Linked DNA regions of Homo sapiens: region 1 is linked to region 2. Evidence: promoter capture Hi-C in 16 types of primary human blood cells and fetal thymus (Javierre and others, 2016). All regions are on one chromosome and are shown on one strand. Each heading gives the region's core, a stretch centred on a gene start or on the middle of the fragment in contact. The rest is flanking DNA. Distances are from core to core; before and after follow the strand shown. Region 1 holds the start of DAP (death associated protein). Region 2 holds the start of NSUN2 (NOP2/Sun RNA methyltransferase 2).

The links. The method cuts DNA at HindIII sites, captures the fragments that hold promoters and counts their contacts. A CHiCAGO score of 5 or more calls a contact.
Region 1: a contact is called between the fragment with the promoter of DAP here and the fragment with the promoter of NSUN2 in region 2, in 1 of 17 cell types (total CD4 T cells). The highest score is 8.6, in total CD4 T cells.

The regions. Positions count from the first base shown.
Region 1 is chr5:10,758,741-10,762,844 of GRCh38, reverse strand. DAP (death associated protein) reads left to right here and starts at 1,611. Exons shown (of 4, transcript NM_004394.3): 1 at 1,611-1,831. The coding sequence starts at 1,777. DAP-DT (DAP divergent transcript) reads right to left here and starts at 1,809. Exons shown (of 3, transcript NR_187555.1): 1 at 1,629-1,809. RefSeq lists silencers at 1,076-1,545, 1,626-2,055 and an enhancer at 708-1,553. The HindIII fragment of the contact is 9,246 bases long and covers 1-4,104 here.
Region 2 is chr5:6,631,473-6,635,349 of GRCh38, reverse strand. NSUN2 (NOP2/Sun RNA methyltransferase 2) reads left to right here and starts at 2,306. Exons shown (of 19, transcript NM_017755.6): 1 at 2,306-2,466; 2 at 2,594-2,751; 3 at 3,373-3,477. The coding sequence starts at 2,371. SRD5A1 (steroid 5 alpha-reductase 1) reads right to left here and starts at 1,910. Exons shown (of 5, transcript NM_001047.4): 1 at 1,481-1,910. The coding sequence starts at 1,773. RefSeq lists enhancers at 1,187-1,698, 1,699-2,210 and a silencer at 1,674-2,063. The HindIII fragment of the contact is 4,632 bases long and covers 444-3,877 here.

The sequences.
Region 1 (4,104 bases), core at 362-2,861, 4.1 Mb before region 2:
AGGGTAAGGCAGTGATGTGGCACCTCCGGAGCAAAGGAGGAGGGGGACGGCCAGCTGCATCAAGTGCTGCTAAGAGCTCAAATAGAATGAAAGTAGAAAATGACCATTGGATCTGGCAGCACATAGGTTATAAGTGACTTCCACAAAAGGACCTCCCATGGTTGAGGGCAGTGCAGCAGAACTTGATGAAAACCAGACAAACTGGACTGGAGGGAGTGACAAGAGATGAGGAGCTCAGCCTCCCTGAACAGTTTTGTTGTCAAAGGGAAAAGTACAGCCAAGCGAGGGGTGGTGTTTCCTTCGCTAAAGAGATTAGGCCTGTCTGAATGCGAATCCAGCAAGGCATTGCGGAAGTTAACAGCAGTTGCAAAACACTGGGGCAGGCGGGAAGAACACGATCCAAGGCACGAGAGCCAGGGGTCAGCCACGGCAACAGGAAGATGATGGTGAAAACCAAAAGTTTCTGAGAGTGGTCTCAATTTAGGAAGTTTATTTTGCCAAGGTTAAGGACGTGCATTGACACAACCTCAGGAGGTTCTGATGACATGTGCCCAGGGTGGCCAGGAAACATCTTGGTTTTATACATTTGAGGGAGACATGAGACATCAATCAATACGTAAGATGTAGGTTGGCTCTTTAGGAGGTAAAATGTGAAGTGGAGGCGTCCGGGTCATAGGTACATTTAAAGGTTTTCTGATTGGCAACTGGTTGAGAGTTATCATCTAAAGACCTGGACTCAGTAGAAGGGAATGTCCGGGTTGCATGAAGGAGTTGTGGAGACCAAGGTGTTATCATGCAGATGAAGCCGGGAATACACTGCAAATGTTTCTTATCAGAGTCCTCTATTAGTCTTAGGGTCTCCGTGCGGATGTTTGTGAGGCCATGTTTGACTTCCGCTTCCCATCAAGGCCTGAACTAGTTTTTCAAGATAACTTAGAAGGCCACAGGCGGAGGGGAGGGTCCATCCGTTGGCTGCAGGGCTTAGAATTTTATTTTTGGTTCATAACGAGGAGGGCAGGGACAGAAGCCACCGTCTCTGCTCCCCAGCGCTGGCCCTCACTCGGAAAGCAGGCTCTCCCCTCGCATCGTCTTTTAACAAATTCCTGCTCTCTCGGCCCCCGTCGCTGCCATCTGGGCTCTCCTTTCCGCGCTTCATTAGGCGCTGCCGCGGCAGGGGCTGAGGGCCTCAGGGGACGGTCGCCTCCCTGCCGGGACGCCCCGGCCCTGGCCCGCACTGTGGGGCGCAGTCACCCAGCCGTCGCCGCGTAGCCAGGAGCCCGGCTGAGCGCGTTCGCTGCAGGAGCCATCCTCAGCTGGGCCCTACTTAACTTTCCGCAACTCCAGTCCCCGCAGCCAGTCGGGGACCCCGCCTCCCTCTCCTTCCTTCTCCCTCTCACTTCTTCACCCCTTCTCTCCCCTCCCTCCTCCGCCCCCGCCCCCGCCCCCGCCCCCGCCCCCGGCCACAGCATCCGACGTGGCGCGGCCGGCTGCGCACGCACCGTATGCTTGGCTCGCGGCCCAGCAGGGCGGGCGGGCCGCGGTGACGTCAGTGCGCATGCCGTCGGTGGGCTCGGCTGCGCCACGTCGGCGCGCGGCGGCCGCGCCCCCTTAACGGCAGTGGCACTCACCCGGCTCGCGCGGCCCCGGCGCCCCACGCGCGCGCGTCGTTCTCCCGCCCGCTCGCTCCCCGGCGCTCACACCTGAGCTCACTCGCGCACGCCCGCCCGGCCCGAGAACCGCGCCGCCGCCTCGGCCCCGCGGAAGCCCCGCCGCGTCATGTCTTCGCCTCCCGAAGGGAAACTAGAGACTAAAGCTGGACACCCGCCCGCCGGTACTGACTCTTTTCCTCTCTCTCCACGCGCGGGTGCCGGGGGCGGGCTCGAACCCGGGGGCGCCGGGCGGGGGCTCCGCGGGGAGGGCCCCGGCGAGCGCTGAGACGGGTTCCGGGCCTTGATGCCCGCCCGAGGGGCGCGGGCCGCGGAGAGGTCGGGCGCCCAGGCCCGGGAGGAGCCCGCCGGAGCTTCGGCCCCGCTTGCCGGCGGCGGCGAAGCGTTTCTTCCTGAGGACCGCGGGCGGCCGCGTACCTGTGCGATTGCGCGCAGGCTCCGGTGCCTTGGGCGAACCCAGTTGCACAACTTATAACAAAGTTTTGGCGGATAATATTTACTTAGAGGATACAGATGTCTAGAAAGAAAGTAGCAGAAGCAATGAAAAGTCAGTGGTGTTAATATCATGGTGATGATTAATTAGAGGCTGCCAGCGTTTCATACCGACTCAAGAACCAAGGAGCGGAAATAATTTTTATCATTAATCACTCAATATGACTTTCACCGCCAGTTTCTTCCACATCCAGATTTTTTTTTTCCCCCAAAGTTGCTTTTTCTGATTTTGAGCAAATCCTAAACTTCTGAGCCAAGGAAGTTAAAGCCAGGAAAGAGCGGTCTTTCTTAGAACATAGGGATCTAAGCAGCCTTCATGCTTCTGCCACCTCCTCCTCTCTCTGGGCACAGTTCCTGTTTGCACTTTGGATTCTGTCCAGACGGGTCTGTTTCCGTTTCTACTCTCCTTTCCAGTGGCAGTCGGCCCATATGGAGGGACACTGGTGAGAAGATCAAAGGCCTTGGGTCTCAGAAGCCAAGTCACTTCAATGTATGGATGCGTGAGGTTCTTTTAGGTCTTAATAGCACGCCTTAGTGTCATAAACTCAGTCTTGTAGGAACAGAAGTCTTTGAGAAACATGGCTTCTTTTGGTGGCACATTTGCGCCATTTTCTTGACAATAAAGATTCCTGGCCAGGCGCGGTGGCTCATGCCTGTAACCCCAGCAGTTTGGGAGGCCAAGGAGGGTGGATCACTTGAGGTCAGGAGTTCAAGACTAGCCTGGATAACATGGTGAAACCCCATCTCTACTAAAAGTAGAAAAATTAGCTGGGCATGGTGGCGGGCGCCTGTAATCCCAGCTATTCAGGAGGCCGAGGCAGGAGAATGGCTTGAACCCGGGAGGCAGAAGTTGTAGTGAGCCAAGATTGAGCCAAAGCACTCCAGCCTTGGCGACAAAGCGAGCGAGACTCCATCTCAAAAAAAAAAAAAAAAAAAAAAAAGATTCCCATTATCCTTCTCTGCTGTCCTCCGCTATAGGGCGGGAATTCTCTGCACCAGCACAATGAATAGGAGCCGTTCTTTAAATATGTTGCAGTCCAGAGTAGGCAATATTTTTCAGTGGTGACGGAGGCTCTCTACAACAAAACTAACTGGCACTGGGAAAGAAAAATGTCTAACTGATGCCAGAGAACTTAAGAGGCATGGGGTTTTAGAAAATCATTCCACTGTGATGGAAAATGGTTTTGGGGGAATTTGTGTTGCATTGGTTTTAAGAAAAAAAGTACTTCAAAGGGAGTTTTTTTTTTGATGGGATTTCTTTTAAGGATAACTGACTTCCATTCCACCACAGCGGGTCCCTGTCCACTGTGGGGAGGAGCGCCTTGATTTCCACCCCGGGCAGGGCTGCCTCCAGGAACTGCAGCAGCCACCTGCTCTGGCCCTCCACTCCCCAGGACATGGGTTACATTAAAGCGTATCTGTTGGAATGATACAGAACCAAAGTACAGTAATTAAATTGCATACAGAGACACACCCATAAAGAAGTTTTTTGTTTTGTTTTTTGAAACAGAGTCTCACTCTGTCACCTGGGAGTGCAGTGGCACGATCTTGGCTCACTGCAACCTCCGCCTTCTAGGTTCAAGAGATTCTCCTGCCTCAGCCTCCCGAGTAGCTGGGTTTACAGGTGCCTGCCACCACACCTGGCTGATTTTTGTATTTTTAGTAGAGACCGGATTTTGCCATGTTGGCCAGGCTGGTCTTGAACTCCTGACTTCAGGTGATCCACCCACCTCAGCCTTCCAAAGTGCCCATATGGAGATTTTTAAGGTCAGAGGTATAAACTGTACATACTCACTCCCTGGGAGAAATTCCTTGCTGGACTCTGGTTTTCTTTGAATTGCAGAGTAAACAGCTAGGCTTTGTGAATTACAGAGTAAGTAGTTTATTTACCCCTGAGGAGGGAAGAGGCAGCTTATTTGTGCTAGTGTAGCAGTGAGCTTGGGTT
Region 2 (3,877 bases), core at 1,057-3,556:
ATTGTAGCAATGGTTGATCCCATTCCAAAAAAAAAATAAAGCAATGGTAAAGAGTTTCAGGCACACAGTACTCACTAAGCCTCTGATGAATGTTGACTTGCCCTTGTTTAAAGTGCAAGTCATCAAAGCACACTGAGGACACAGACTGCACCAGTTACAGGGTAAGGTGCTGGTTTTCAGGGAACTCAGGTACCAAAAACTGTGCTGGGTACAACACTGGTTCCAAGTAGTGGAGCTGTGTACTTTCTCTTCGCTGGAATGCATGACACCAGGAGAAAGAAGAGAGGCTTATAAACACACACTGAGTTCTTCCTGTCTCTCTGGGAAGTGAGTGTTTTAAGGTGGGACCCCAAATCAGAAAGGTTGGGTAAACTGCCCATAGTCACACAGCCAGTGAGTTCAACTTCCTTGGGTGTAGAGACATCCTTTTTAACTGTGAAGCTTTCCAGAGCCTGAATGAAAACGTTTAAAATTTAATTTTGAACTTTCGACCTGTCGTTTGCTTTGGCTGTGTAAAAGCCAAAAGATACGACCTGGAGAGAACCCCAACTTATTAGAAGGCTTGAAGATTTCAGACACAGCCAGTTTTCAAATATTCAAAAAAACAAAAACCTTGAAAGATTTAGAAGTCATCTTTAAGACTTCGTTTGTTTAAGGTTTAAGGTTGCTGGCTTTCCACCCCCACAATCCTGGGGTCCCTTGCATAAGGTGGACATGAAAGTCTCTGAAAGTGATCAAGCCTATAAGGAGAAACTGCTAGGCAGTTTTAGGACAGCAGGTTTCCAGTTGCAGCTGATCACTTGGCTGGGAGAAAACAGCTCCACCATCACCAAAGATACCAAAAGGGGAACCGGCAGAAAGGAGTAGAAACCAGTGGCCCTCAAGACCGACCATCAGCATTAGACTCTAGGCCAACCCCCTCCCCCCCGCCCCCACAGTCGTGATCTAAGGGAACAAAATCTAGTCTTCATTTTTATTTTACATTTTTACTTTTTAACTCTTTATTTTTATATATTTAATTTTGAGACAGAGTCTCGCTCTGTCACCCAGGCTGGAGGGCAGTGGCGAGATCTCGGCTCACTGTAACCTCCGCCTCTCGGGTTCAAGCGATTCTTCCATCTCAGACTCCCGAGTAACTGGGATCACAGACAGGCGCCACCGCGCCCGGCTAAGGAAACCAAACCTAGGACCACTGAGTGGCTCTTTCCAGATCAGTTTCATCATGTTTTTTTCCATCACTCCCTTCCAGTCCTTTGTTTCCCGCCCTTTCCAGACGAATCCCTTCTGGTTTCCAAACTCCCGGGGCCGGGGGACTCGGGGAAGGGCACCCGTGCAGATGGGGGACGCCCCGGGGGATCTGGCAGGGAGAGGGCATCTGGGTGGGGGAGGCTTCGGGGAGAGGGCACCGGGCAGTGAGGGGAGGGTCGGAGAGGACGCCGGGCCGGGAGTAGGGTAGGGGGCCGGGGGCCGGGGACGTTACCGATGCCCGTAGTGGACGAGGAACATGGCCAGGAGGATGCAGTTGGGCGCGCTGCGGAGACGCGGGGCGGACTCGCTGGCGTACTGGTAGAGCGGCAGGGCCAGCGAGGGCAGCTCCTGCACCACCCAGGCGGCCCGCGCCGGCACTCGGAGCCTGTGGCTGGGCAGCGCGTGGCGGCCGTACACTGAGTTCGTCTGACGATTGCGCGCGAAGACCGCGCAGCCCACGGCGCACTGCAGGTAGGCGAGCGCGGCCAGCAGGCGCTCCTCCGCCACCCCCGTCGCCGTTGCCATCGCCAGGGCTGGGCAGCGTGCTCCATGCCCCAGAGGCCGCGGCGGGCAACATATAGGGCGGCGGCGCGGGGGCAGGAGGGGCGGCTACCGGAGGGGCGGCTACCGGAGTCCCGCACTGCCGGGACTCTGCAGAAAGGGTTCTCAAGTCAGGCTTCTCCGGGGTAGCCGGGGCTGTGGGTGCGGCCCCGGGGGCGGGGCGAGCACTTGCGCGGGGAGGGACCTGCAAGCGCCCCACCCACGCCGGGGCCGCAGTAACCCCGCGCCGCTCTGCGCACGCGCGGCTTCAGGCTGTCCGCGGAGCTCCTTGAGCCCGCGTGGGAAACCTGGGCGCTTCGCGCGGAGACGCCTTTGTGGCTGCTTCCTGGAGCATTTTTTTCCCCTTAGAGCTGTTCGCTGTTTTCCCTGTCACGCCGCTTTTCTGAAAGACGGGTTGTGCGCTTTGGGCTTATTCCTGGACGGTCCCCAAAGGTCCCCGAAAGGACCAGGCCCGGACACGTGGGGCCTTGGTTTCCGGCCGGAAGTCCCGGGAGGTGTAGGGCTAGAGTTCTGGCCGTGGCGGGCCGGTTTCTGCGTGCTGCGTGCGCGGCCGCGTGGGCTATGGGGCGGCGGTCGCGGGGTCGGCGGCTCCAGCAACAGCAGCGGCCGGAGGACGCGGAGGATGGCGCCGAGGGTGGTGGAAAGCGCGGCGAGGCGGTAGGAGCCGGGACCCGGCGGGCGGGCCAGGGGCTCCTCCTGGGCTTCCCGGACCCCGAGGCCTGCGAGGCGGCGGCGAGGGGGCGGCTCCTTGGGCCTCGGGGTAGACGTCTCTTTCCTTCCTCAGGGCTGGGAAGGAGGCTACCCCGAGATCGTCAAGGAGAACAAGCTGTTCGAGCACTACTACCAGGAGCTCAAGATCGTGCCCGAGGGCGAGTGGGGCCAGTTCATGGACGCTCTCAGGGAGCCGCTCCCGGCCACTTTAAGAATTACTGGTTACAAAAGGTAGGGAGGCAGTGCCTGATTTTTTGGGAGTTGGGGCCAGGATGCTGGAGGTTAAAGGCGACGGTGTTTTCTTCGACAAGTGTTACAGTGCCAGAGAACCGTGGCGTTTCAGCGGTTTGGATTCAGGAAGCATTGAGGTGGGGAGCACAGGGTCCAATGAAATGGTCACGGAGGTATTGCAGGCGCAAGGTTAGAAGACGAAATGAAAATGAGATCTGAGGAAGATTCGGCTCCTGGGGAATCTTCCAGGAGGGAAGCTGAGGGTCTTACCTTTTGGAACGTAAGAGAATTTATAGAGAATGCATAAAACCCCTTGGTTCTCCCCTCCTCCGCGCCCCCCCTCCATCTTTGTAGTTACATCTTTCTAAATGAGTCGCAAGTAAAACTTAACGGTAGGATATGCTTAGGAGAGAAGGAATGCAGTGTTGCTCTTAGGGCTCAAACAGTGTGGATTGCTTAAATTTTGAAGGCATACAGTGTAAAAGTAGTGACTAAAGAATGTTTACTCTCCATGCAAAAGTTGGTTTTAGTTTTAAAACACTTGCAGTCTTAAATTTAAGAAGATACAATGTATTAACTTAGTTTTTTAGATCAGTTTGAAACTTCCTTATTTTTCAATAGCCACGCAAAAGAGATTCTCCATTGCTTAAAGAACAAATATTTTAAGGAATTGGAGGACCTGGAGGTGGACGGTCAGAAAGTTGAAGTTCCACAGCCACTGAGTTGGTAGGTACCACAGTGCTTCATGCCGAATATTTATTTGGGATATTAATCTCTATCACTTGAATTATATTTCTTGGTACTGCATTTGCTGTTAAAGAGCTTGGGTATACTTTGCAAACATCCTAATGTTCTAGTACCTGGTGCTTTTATCAACATTATATTGCTACGCAAGTTTTCATGCGATTTGCGATTTGCAGCTTTATGAGTCACTGATTTCAGCCAGCTCTTCCTAGTACATCCAGCCTCTTCCTTTATGTCACCACTTCCGCCAGCTCCCTTTTACAGCCCTTGTTTTCTCACATCAAAACTGTTGCAGAGTGGCTGCTTTGCCTTCAGAAAAAGGACAGACTTAGCTTGACAACAGTCTCCTGGTAGGTAGTCTCTTAGTGTTTTCCATTACAGA